Linked DNA regions of Homo sapiens: all the other regions are linked to region 3. Evidence: promoter capture Hi-C in 16 types of primary human blood cells and fetal thymus (Javierre and others, 2016). All regions are on one chromosome and are shown on one strand. The core of a region is centred on a gene start or on the middle of the fragment in contact, and the rest is flanking DNA. Distances in the headings are between cores, read along the strand shown. Region 1 overlaps UQCRC2 (ubiquinol-cytochrome c reductase core protein 2). Region 2 overlaps UQCRC2 (ubiquinol-cytochrome c reductase core protein 2). Region 3 holds the start of SDR42E2 (short chain dehydrogenase/reductase family 42E, member 2).

The links. Contacts are between HindIII fragments. The CHiCAGO score rates a contact against its expected background, and 5 or more counts as called.
Region 1: a fragment that was not itself captured here is called in contact with the fragment with the promoter of SDR42E2 in region 3 in 7 of 17 cell types (total CD4 T cells, non-activated CD4 T cells, M0 macrophages and 4 more); the score reaches 8.0 in total CD4 T cells.
Region 2: a fragment that was not itself captured here is called in contact with the fragment with the promoter of SDR42E2 in region 3 in 2 of 17 cell types (megakaryocytes and naive CD4 T cells); the score reaches 5.3 in megakaryocytes.

Annotation. Positions count from the first base shown.
Region 1 is chr16:21,980,416-21,983,115 of GRCh38, forward strand. It overlaps UQCRC2 (ubiquinol-cytochrome c reductase core protein 2), which reads left to right. Exons shown (of 14, transcript NM_003366.4): 13 at 132-285; 14 at 2,673-2,700. It also overlaps a transcript of PDZD9 not described here and the pseudogene LOC100420644. Among named protein-coding and RNA genes, the nearest start is that of PDZD9, 19 kb to the right of the region's middle. The HindIII fragment of the contact is 1,716 bases long and covers 450-2,165 here.
Region 2 is chr16:21,960,093-21,962,792 of GRCh38, forward strand. UQCRC2 (ubiquinol-cytochrome c reductase core protein 2) reads left to right here. Exons shown (of 14, transcript NM_003366.4): 5 at 2,368-2,424; 6 at 2,669-2,700. It also overlaps a transcript of PDZD9 not described here. Among named protein-coding and RNA genes, the nearest start is that of UQCRC2, 8.1 kb to the left of the region's middle. The HindIII fragment of the contact is 1,786 bases long and covers 531-2,316 here.
Region 3 is chr16:22,161,158-22,163,857 of GRCh38, forward strand. SDR42E2 (short chain dehydrogenase/reductase family 42E, member 2) reads left to right here and starts at 1,349. Exons shown (of 13, transcript NM_001394319.2): 1 at 1,349-1,407. The HindIII fragment of the contact is 17,104 bases long and covers 1-2,700 here.

The sequences.
Region 1 (2,700 bases), core at 58-2,557, 180 kb before region 3:
AGGAAGAGGGAGACACGCTGTTACTCTATCCATTAAATAAAGCTTTGATGTTCACAGCCCCCCGCCACCACTCAGAAAAAAAAAATAATTGCCTTGCTCTCTAAAACTGACTTCTGCCTTTTATTGGACAGGAACAAGCTGAAAGCTGGATACCTAATGTCAGTGGAGTCTTCTGAGTGTTTCCTGGAAGAAGTCGGGTCCCAGGCTCTAGTTGCTGGTTCTTACATGCCACCATCCACAGTCCTTCAGCAGATTGATTCAGTGGCTAATGCTGATATCATAAATGTAAGTAAATGAAAACTTAACGATTTAACAACAGAGAACTTAACCTTAATGATCCAATTTCAGAAGGATGCATAAGCGTCCTTGGGCAGTGTATTATTCTTATGTTTGGTGCTCATCTACTTAATGTGGAGGCAGGAGGGCTCATTCCCATAAGATCCGCAACAAGCTTCCCTGTCAGCTCGAGTATATGTATCTTCCTCCTTCAAATAAACTACCATTAGGTTAAACTGTGATGTCAGTAAGAGGGCTGCCATCCACTGAGATGGCAGTCAAAAGTGCATTTAATACACCTAACGTATCAAACGTTAGGTTAAACTAATGGTAGTTTATAAAATGGGCTTATGTTAGATGACTAGAAGTAAAGAAGAGTCAAATATTAGCAGTTTCATATGATCCAACCTAAATAGTGAAGTTTGCTATTTTTCCTCTTCAGTCCTAGCAATATTTCACCATCTAGCATCTTAAGATTTTCTTTACTCTTCTCAGCCTAGGACATTCTCTTGTTCTTGCTAATTTTTTTTTCACATATATTATTGTTCCCTACAATATTGAGCTGTTTTGAGGGCAAGGACTATGTCATGTACTTCTTTGTGTTCCCTGCTGTGCCTAACAAGCACATGACCTACAGAATTAATCCAAAGTAAGTGGGTTTTCCCCATTTTCTACATTAAACTTGCCAACTTGCTTTCTACTGTAGATGTCTCGGCCATCTTCTCACCAACAGGTCTACCTTGTATAGGGACAGTGGGGATAAGAAAAAATAAAAAACTAAGCTGGGTGCAGTGGCTCATTCCTGTAATCCCAGCACTTTGGAAGGCTGAGGTGGGCAGATTGCTTGAGCCCAGGAGTTCAATACCAGACTGGGCAATGTAGCAAAACCCCATCTCTACAAAAAAGTACAAAAATTAGCTAGGCTTGGTGGCATGCGCCTGTAGTCCCAGCTACTCAGGAGCTCATGGGGCTGAGGTGGGAAGGTGGCTTGAGCCTGGGAGGCAGAGGTTGCAGCGAGCCGAGATCATGCCACTGTACTCCAGGCTGGGCAACAGAGTGAGACCCTGTCTCAAATAAAAAAGAGACAAGGCTATTTTAAGATAGTAACCCTGACTTGATTTCACTTCGCCCCAATCGTCATTTCATACTCTTCTTTTTTTTTTTTTTGAGACGGAGTCTTGCTCTGTTGCCCAGGCTGGAGTGCAGTGGCGCGATCTCGGCTCAGTACAACCTCCGCCTCCCGGGTTCACGCCATTTTCCTGCCTCAGCCTTCCTAGTAACTGGGACTACAGGTGCCCACCACCACGGCCGGCTAATTTTTTGTATTTTTAGTAGAGACGGGGTTTTACCATGTTAGCCAGGATGGTCTCGATCTCCTGACCTCGTGATCCACCCGCCTCAGCCTTCCAAAGTGCTGGGATTACAGGTGTGAATCAACGCGCCCAGCCCATTTGGTACTCTTTTAAATGGCTGTCTTCATCTTATATCCTATCATTATGTGCGTCCCAACCCGACTGCTTCCACCACCACCTCTCCTTCATAGTAATAAGATAAGCTGGCCTGACAGAATATGGGGGCTGCTGCTCCACCTACACCTGACTCATGATACTACACTTAACCAGCCTTTGAACTTGGAAGTAGTGGCATAAAGAATCCTCTAGGGTATCAAGTTTTACTTTTAAGTTAACAATCAATGTATTTTTATTGACCCAGACTATTTGCCATTGTAATACCGAAACAGGAAAGTATATCCCTGCCTGAAGCCACACTACTCTATTTGACAGTGTCAGTGTTGTTTTCCTTATCTCTCTTTGAACAGCTACCCTCTTACCAGTGTTGCTCTTGCTTGGTTCATTACACATACAATGGGACTTTCAGAGAAACAGCTAAGCTTTTCCTCCCACACTGTCCCAAATTAAAGCACCAGCCATCTCCTAGTTAATTTTCACAACAGCTATTATAGTAATTGCTGGCTTAGAATGTCCTATCGAAGGCCAGGTTGGTGGCTCACGCCTGTAATCCCAGCACTTTGGGAGGTTAAGGTGAGTGGATCACTTGAGGCTAGGAGTTTGAGACCAGCCTGGCCAACATGGCGAAATCCCGTCTCTACTAAAAATACAAAAATTAGCTGGGCATAGTGATACATGCCTGTAATCCCAGCTCCTTGGGAGGGTGAGGCAGAGAATTGCTTGAACCTGGGAGGCGGAGGCTGCAGTGAGCCAAGATCGCAGCACTGCACTCCACACTGGGTGACAGAGCGAGACTCCACCTCAAAAAAAAAAAAAAAAAAAAGAATGTCCTATCCATAAATTCTTGAAATGACAAAATAAGTTCGCCTGCTTGATGATATATATTTTTATTTTTGTTAATTTTGTCTTTTGTTTGTTTCTTTAAAGGCGGCAAAGAAGTTTGTTTCTGGCCAGA
Region 2 (2,700 bases), core at 174-2,673, 200 kb before region 3:
TCGTTTGAAGCTTTGACGCCAGGCATTGACTTCTCTAGCTACGAATGTCCTGGACGGCATCTTCCAATGTAAGGCTGTTTTGTCAGCATTGAAAATCTGTGGTTTAGTGTAGCCACCTTCATCGATGATCTTATGTAGATCTTCTGGATAACGTGCTGCAGCTTCTATATTAGCATTTGCTGCTTCACTGTGTACTATTATATTAAGAAGATGGCTTCTTTCCTTAAAGCTCATGAACTAACCACGGCTAGCTTCAGACTTTTCTTCTGCATCTCACCTCTCTCAGCCTTCATATAATTGAAGAGAGTTAGGGCATTGCTCTGGATTAAGCTTTGACTTAAGGGAATACAGTTTGATCTAATCCAGACCAGTAAAACTCTGTATTATCAGCAATAAGTCTGTCTTGCTTTCATATCATTTATGTGTTCAGTGGAGTAGCACTATTAGTTTTCTTCAAGAACTGCACTGGTGCAAGAGGCCTAGCTTTTGACCTGTATCCGTTTTTAACATGCCTTCCTGACTTCCTTAGAAGCTTAATCCTTTCTAGCTTCTGATTTAAAGTGAGAGACATGAGACTCTTCCTTTCACTTGTATACTTAGGGGCCATTGTCGGGTTATTCATTAGCTTAATTTCAATATTGTTGTGTCTCAGGAGTAGGAATATCCAAAGAGAGGGAGAAAGACTTGGGGAGCAGCTGGTCAGTGGAACACTCAGGACAGAAACAGCATTTCTTTTTTTTTAATTAATTTATATTAAAGACAGGGTCTTGCTCTGTTTCCCAGGCTGGAGTGGAGTGGTGCAGACATACCTTATTGCAGCCTTGAACTCCTGGGCCCAAGCGATTCTTCTCCCTCCGCTTCCCAAGTAGCTAGGACTATAGGCACATGACTCCATGCCTGGCTAATTTTTTATTTTTTGTACAAATGGAGGTCTCACTATGTTGCCCAGACTGGTCTTGAACTCCTGGCCTCAGGTGATCCTCTCACCTCAGCCCAGCATGCTGGGATTGCAGATGTGAGCCACTGCACCCAGCCCAGATTTTTTATATATTGTGTTGTCAGTGGTAAAGATGATAGAGAATGTCTCATTCTGCTGATAGGAGTATAAATTGATACAACCACTTAGGAAAGAATCAAGGAATATCTGGTAATATTGAAAAACCCCACAGTTTTTAATCACATTCACAAAGGTATTCTTTATAAAGACTGGAAACGATCTAAGTGTCCATCTTTAGGGAAATGGGTAAAGTATGACAGAGTCATGATGAGACCACTATACAGCCATTACGGAATGAACTAGATCCATACGTCAACATAGCACAACTGAAGGGCAAAATAGAGTGTGAACAAGCAAGTTTCAAGATTTCTTTAAGGTATTTTAATTTTTTAAGCAGAAAAATACTATGTAGTGCTTATGATTGTGGTTTCCAGAGTGGGAGAGAGTGAGGGAATTGGTCTTGGAAGGGTACGAAAAGATCTTCAACTTTATTTGCCATTTTAAAAAATTGTGGTCAAATGTATATAACATAAAATTTATATATATATATATATATATATATATATATATATATATATATTTTAGACAGTCTCGCTGTGTCGCCCAGGCTGGAGTGCAGTGGCATGATCTTGGCTCACTGTAACCTCCGCCTCTTGGGTTCAAGCGATTCTCCTGCCTCAGCCTCCGTGGTAGCTGGGATTACAGGCGTGCGCCACCATGCTTGGCTAATTTTTGTATTTTCAGTAGAGACCATGGTTTCACCCTGTTGGCCAGGCTGGTCTCAAACTCCTGACCTCAAGTGATCCGCCCACCTCGGCCTCCCAAAGTGCTGGGATTACAGGTGTGAGCCACTGCGCCCGGCCCAAATTTATCATTTTCTTAAGTGTGCAGTTAAGTGGCATTCAGCAACCATCACCAACATTCAGCTCCGGAACTTTTCTATCTTCTCCCACCTGAAATTCTGTACCTGTTAAACAATGGCTGCTCATTCTCCCCTCCCCTCAGCCTTTGGCAACTGCCATTCTCTTTTCAGTCTCTACAAATTTGACTACTCCAGGTACCTCATAAGTAGAATCATACAATATTTGTCCCTTTGTGACTGGCTTATTATCCTTAGCATAATGTCCTCAGGGTTCATCTGTGTTGTAACATGTGACCAGATTTCACTCCTTTTAAGGTTGAATTATTTGCTGGTTTTTAAAAAAATTTTGAATTTTAGTTGGTTAATATGTGGAGTTTTGTTATATTATTGTTCGCACCTTTTATACTTCAGAAATTTTCTTTCCAAAGGAATTGGTTGATAGAAGATTATAAGGGAAAGCTTACTATCCTGATTCAGATGATTTACTCTAGTTTATTTTCCGATTCAGTGTGACCGCAACAAGGGAAAACATGGCTTATACTGTGGAATGCCTGCGGGGTGATGTGTAAGTACCTGTGTGTGTTTAGGACTTCTGCTTTGAAAGAAATACTAAGCTGCTCACTTCTGGTCTTTGTAATGCGTCATTATGACCTCTGACTTCCATTTTGGATTATTGTTCATAAACTGCTCAAAAACACTGCTTACCACAAGACCTAAAGTTTCACATTGAGAGCATTACAGCTATGTAGAATCTCAAATGTTGGCTTTACATTTTTGACTCATAATTCTTATCTCGATGTCTTCTGTAGTGATATTCTAATGGAGTTCCTGCTCAATGTCA
Region 3 (2,700 bases), core at 99-2,598:
CCACCACACCCAGCTGAACATGAGTTTTCAAAGGATGATATGATCCAGCACTGAAGAAGCACCCATCAAAATAGAATGATGTGATTGATGCATAAATCAACAGAGATAAGTGGAAGATTGCAAGACAGGGAGAGTAGATAGATGGGTAGAAGCAAGGAAAGAAAGATATATGTAATGAATTAGATGGGTGGAAGGTTGGATGGATGGAAATTTGGATGGATAGGTGGAAGGATAGATGATGGAAGGTTGGATGGACAGGTTTAAGAATGGATGGATGACAGGTTGTATGGATAGGTTGAAATACAGATGGATGGAAAGGACAGGTTGAAATAAAGATGGATGGAAAGCTGGATGGACAGGTAGAAGTACAGATGGATGGAAGGTTGGATGGATAAGCAGAAGGATGGTCAGGGAGAAGATTGGATGGATAAGTGGAAGGATGGATGATGGAAGGTTAGATGGATAGGTGGAAGGCTGGATGGATAGGTGGAAGGCTGGATGGATGGAAGGTTGGATGGATAGGTGGAAGGATGGATGGATGGAAGGTTGGATGGATAGGTGGAAGGATGGATGGATGGAAGGATGGATGGATAGGTGGAAGGATGGATGATGGAAGAACTTTTTTGGTTTTTTGTTTTTGTTTAAATATTTGCAAATCATTTATCTGATGAAGGATTTGTATCCAGAATATACAAAGAACTCTTAAAAGTCAACAAATAACTCAACTGAAAATGAGCAAAGGATTTGAACAGACACTTCTCCAAAGAAAACACATTAATGTGCCAATGAGCACATGAAAACATGTTCAGCAGCATTAGCTATCAGGAAATTCAAATGAAACCACAATGAGACACCACTTCACACCCAGTAGAATAGTTAAAATTTTAAACATAGATATAATAATAAGTGTTGGTAAGGATGCGGAAGTATTGGAACCCTATACACTGCTGGTAGGATTGTAAAATGGTACAGCTACTTTAGAAAACAGTTTGGCGGTTCTTCTCTAAACACAGAGTAATCATATGACCCAGCAATTCTGCTCCTACATATAGATGAAACCCTTTTTCTTGGGGTTCTAGGACGACTTGGCCTGCAGGACAGAGCCCGGCACGCAGGGCCTTTGCGTCTTTTCCCACAAGAAGCGTGGACCATTTCGCCCATCCCAGCCCTACTGGCTTCAGTTTCCCCTCTATGAGAGCCCGCGGGTCTCCACCTGAGAGAATGCAGGTGCTCCCGCGCCGGGAGTGGGCGGGCAGAAGAGCGGGCGGGGGGCGGTCCGGATGCCTCGTCCCGCCCCGCCCCGCCCCTTTCTGCCCTCCTCGGGAGAAGGAGGTGGCCCGGTGGCCCTGGCGGCGCGGAGACTGGCGCAGCGCGGGGAGCACGCAGCGCCGCGGGAGCCCGGGCCAGGTGAGCGAAGCCCGGACGCGGGCCAGGGAGGGACGCAGGTGCTGGAGGGACAGGGAGGGTGAGGGAGCCAAGAGGGGAGGGGACCCCCACCCTGGAGCTGCCCGCGAGCCCAGCGCTCTCAGGGTCAGTCCCTGATGCTCCCCACCCTTTTGCCAGTTCCTTCCACCAAACCCGCTTTTGGGGTCCCCATCGACCTGGATTCCGGCGGAGACACTGTCTGTGACTCCATCAAAGTTTCCTCATGTTCTCTGGGCCTCAGTTTCCACCTCTGGGTAATGGGAACCATAGCCTGTACTTCACTGAACTTCCAAAAGAATGAGTGAAGCCATGTCCAGGGTGGGTCTGGCGCGCGACCATAGCACAGCCAGATCCCGAACACGCCCCAGAGATTTTGTTCACCCAGCAGCATTTGCTGGCCGCCTGCTTTGCGCCAGGCACTGTTCTAGGTGCTGGGACACTCCAGGGAATGAAATCCTCCTGGAGCTTTGCAATCTAGCCTCGCAAGGCATTCTGGCGTCTGTTTTCTCATGACCACCCTGTGAGGAGCCAGAGCAGCCAGAAATATTTGGGTCCATTCGCGGTTGTGGGTACTAAGGTACAGTGAGGTTTTAAGGCCCTTACCCAAGGGCACACCCCAATAAGTGAGTATCCAAGGCTGAGTCCAGCCTTTGCCACAAAAGGCATCCTCTTAGGGTAGAAAGTCAGCTCTGGTCCCATAGACCCTTCCCCAGAACAGAGTCCTCTGGGCCTGAGTACAGGAGGAGGGCTCGCTGTGGGGCTGCATCCTCTCCTCTCCCTCTCGGGGATTTAGGCCCCTGCTCATGATGGTTTGCAGTCTCTCTCATTAAATCCATGAGTGGGCTGGGCGCAGTGGCTCACGCCTGTAATCCCAGCACTTTGGGAGGCTGAGGGTGGCAGATCACTTGAGACCAGGAGTTTGAGACCAGCCTGGCCAAAATGGTGAAACCCCCGTCTCTACTAAAAATACAAAAATTAACCAGGTGTGGTGGCGCGTGCCTGTAGTCCCAGCTACTCGGGAGGCTGAGGGAGGAGAATTGCTTGAACAAGGCAGGCGGAGGTTGCAGTGAGCCAAGATCACACCACTGCACTCCAGCCTGAGCAACAGAGTGAGACTCCTTCTCTAAATAAATAAATAAAGCCATGAGTGTTCGTGCTTATACGGGGCAGGACTGTATTCCTCACCCAGACATTTGGTGAGCAGGGCAGTAACAGAGGAAATTAAAAATACAGCCCCTCTAGCTGCCAGAGTCCCTGCCCTGTGACCACCACCAG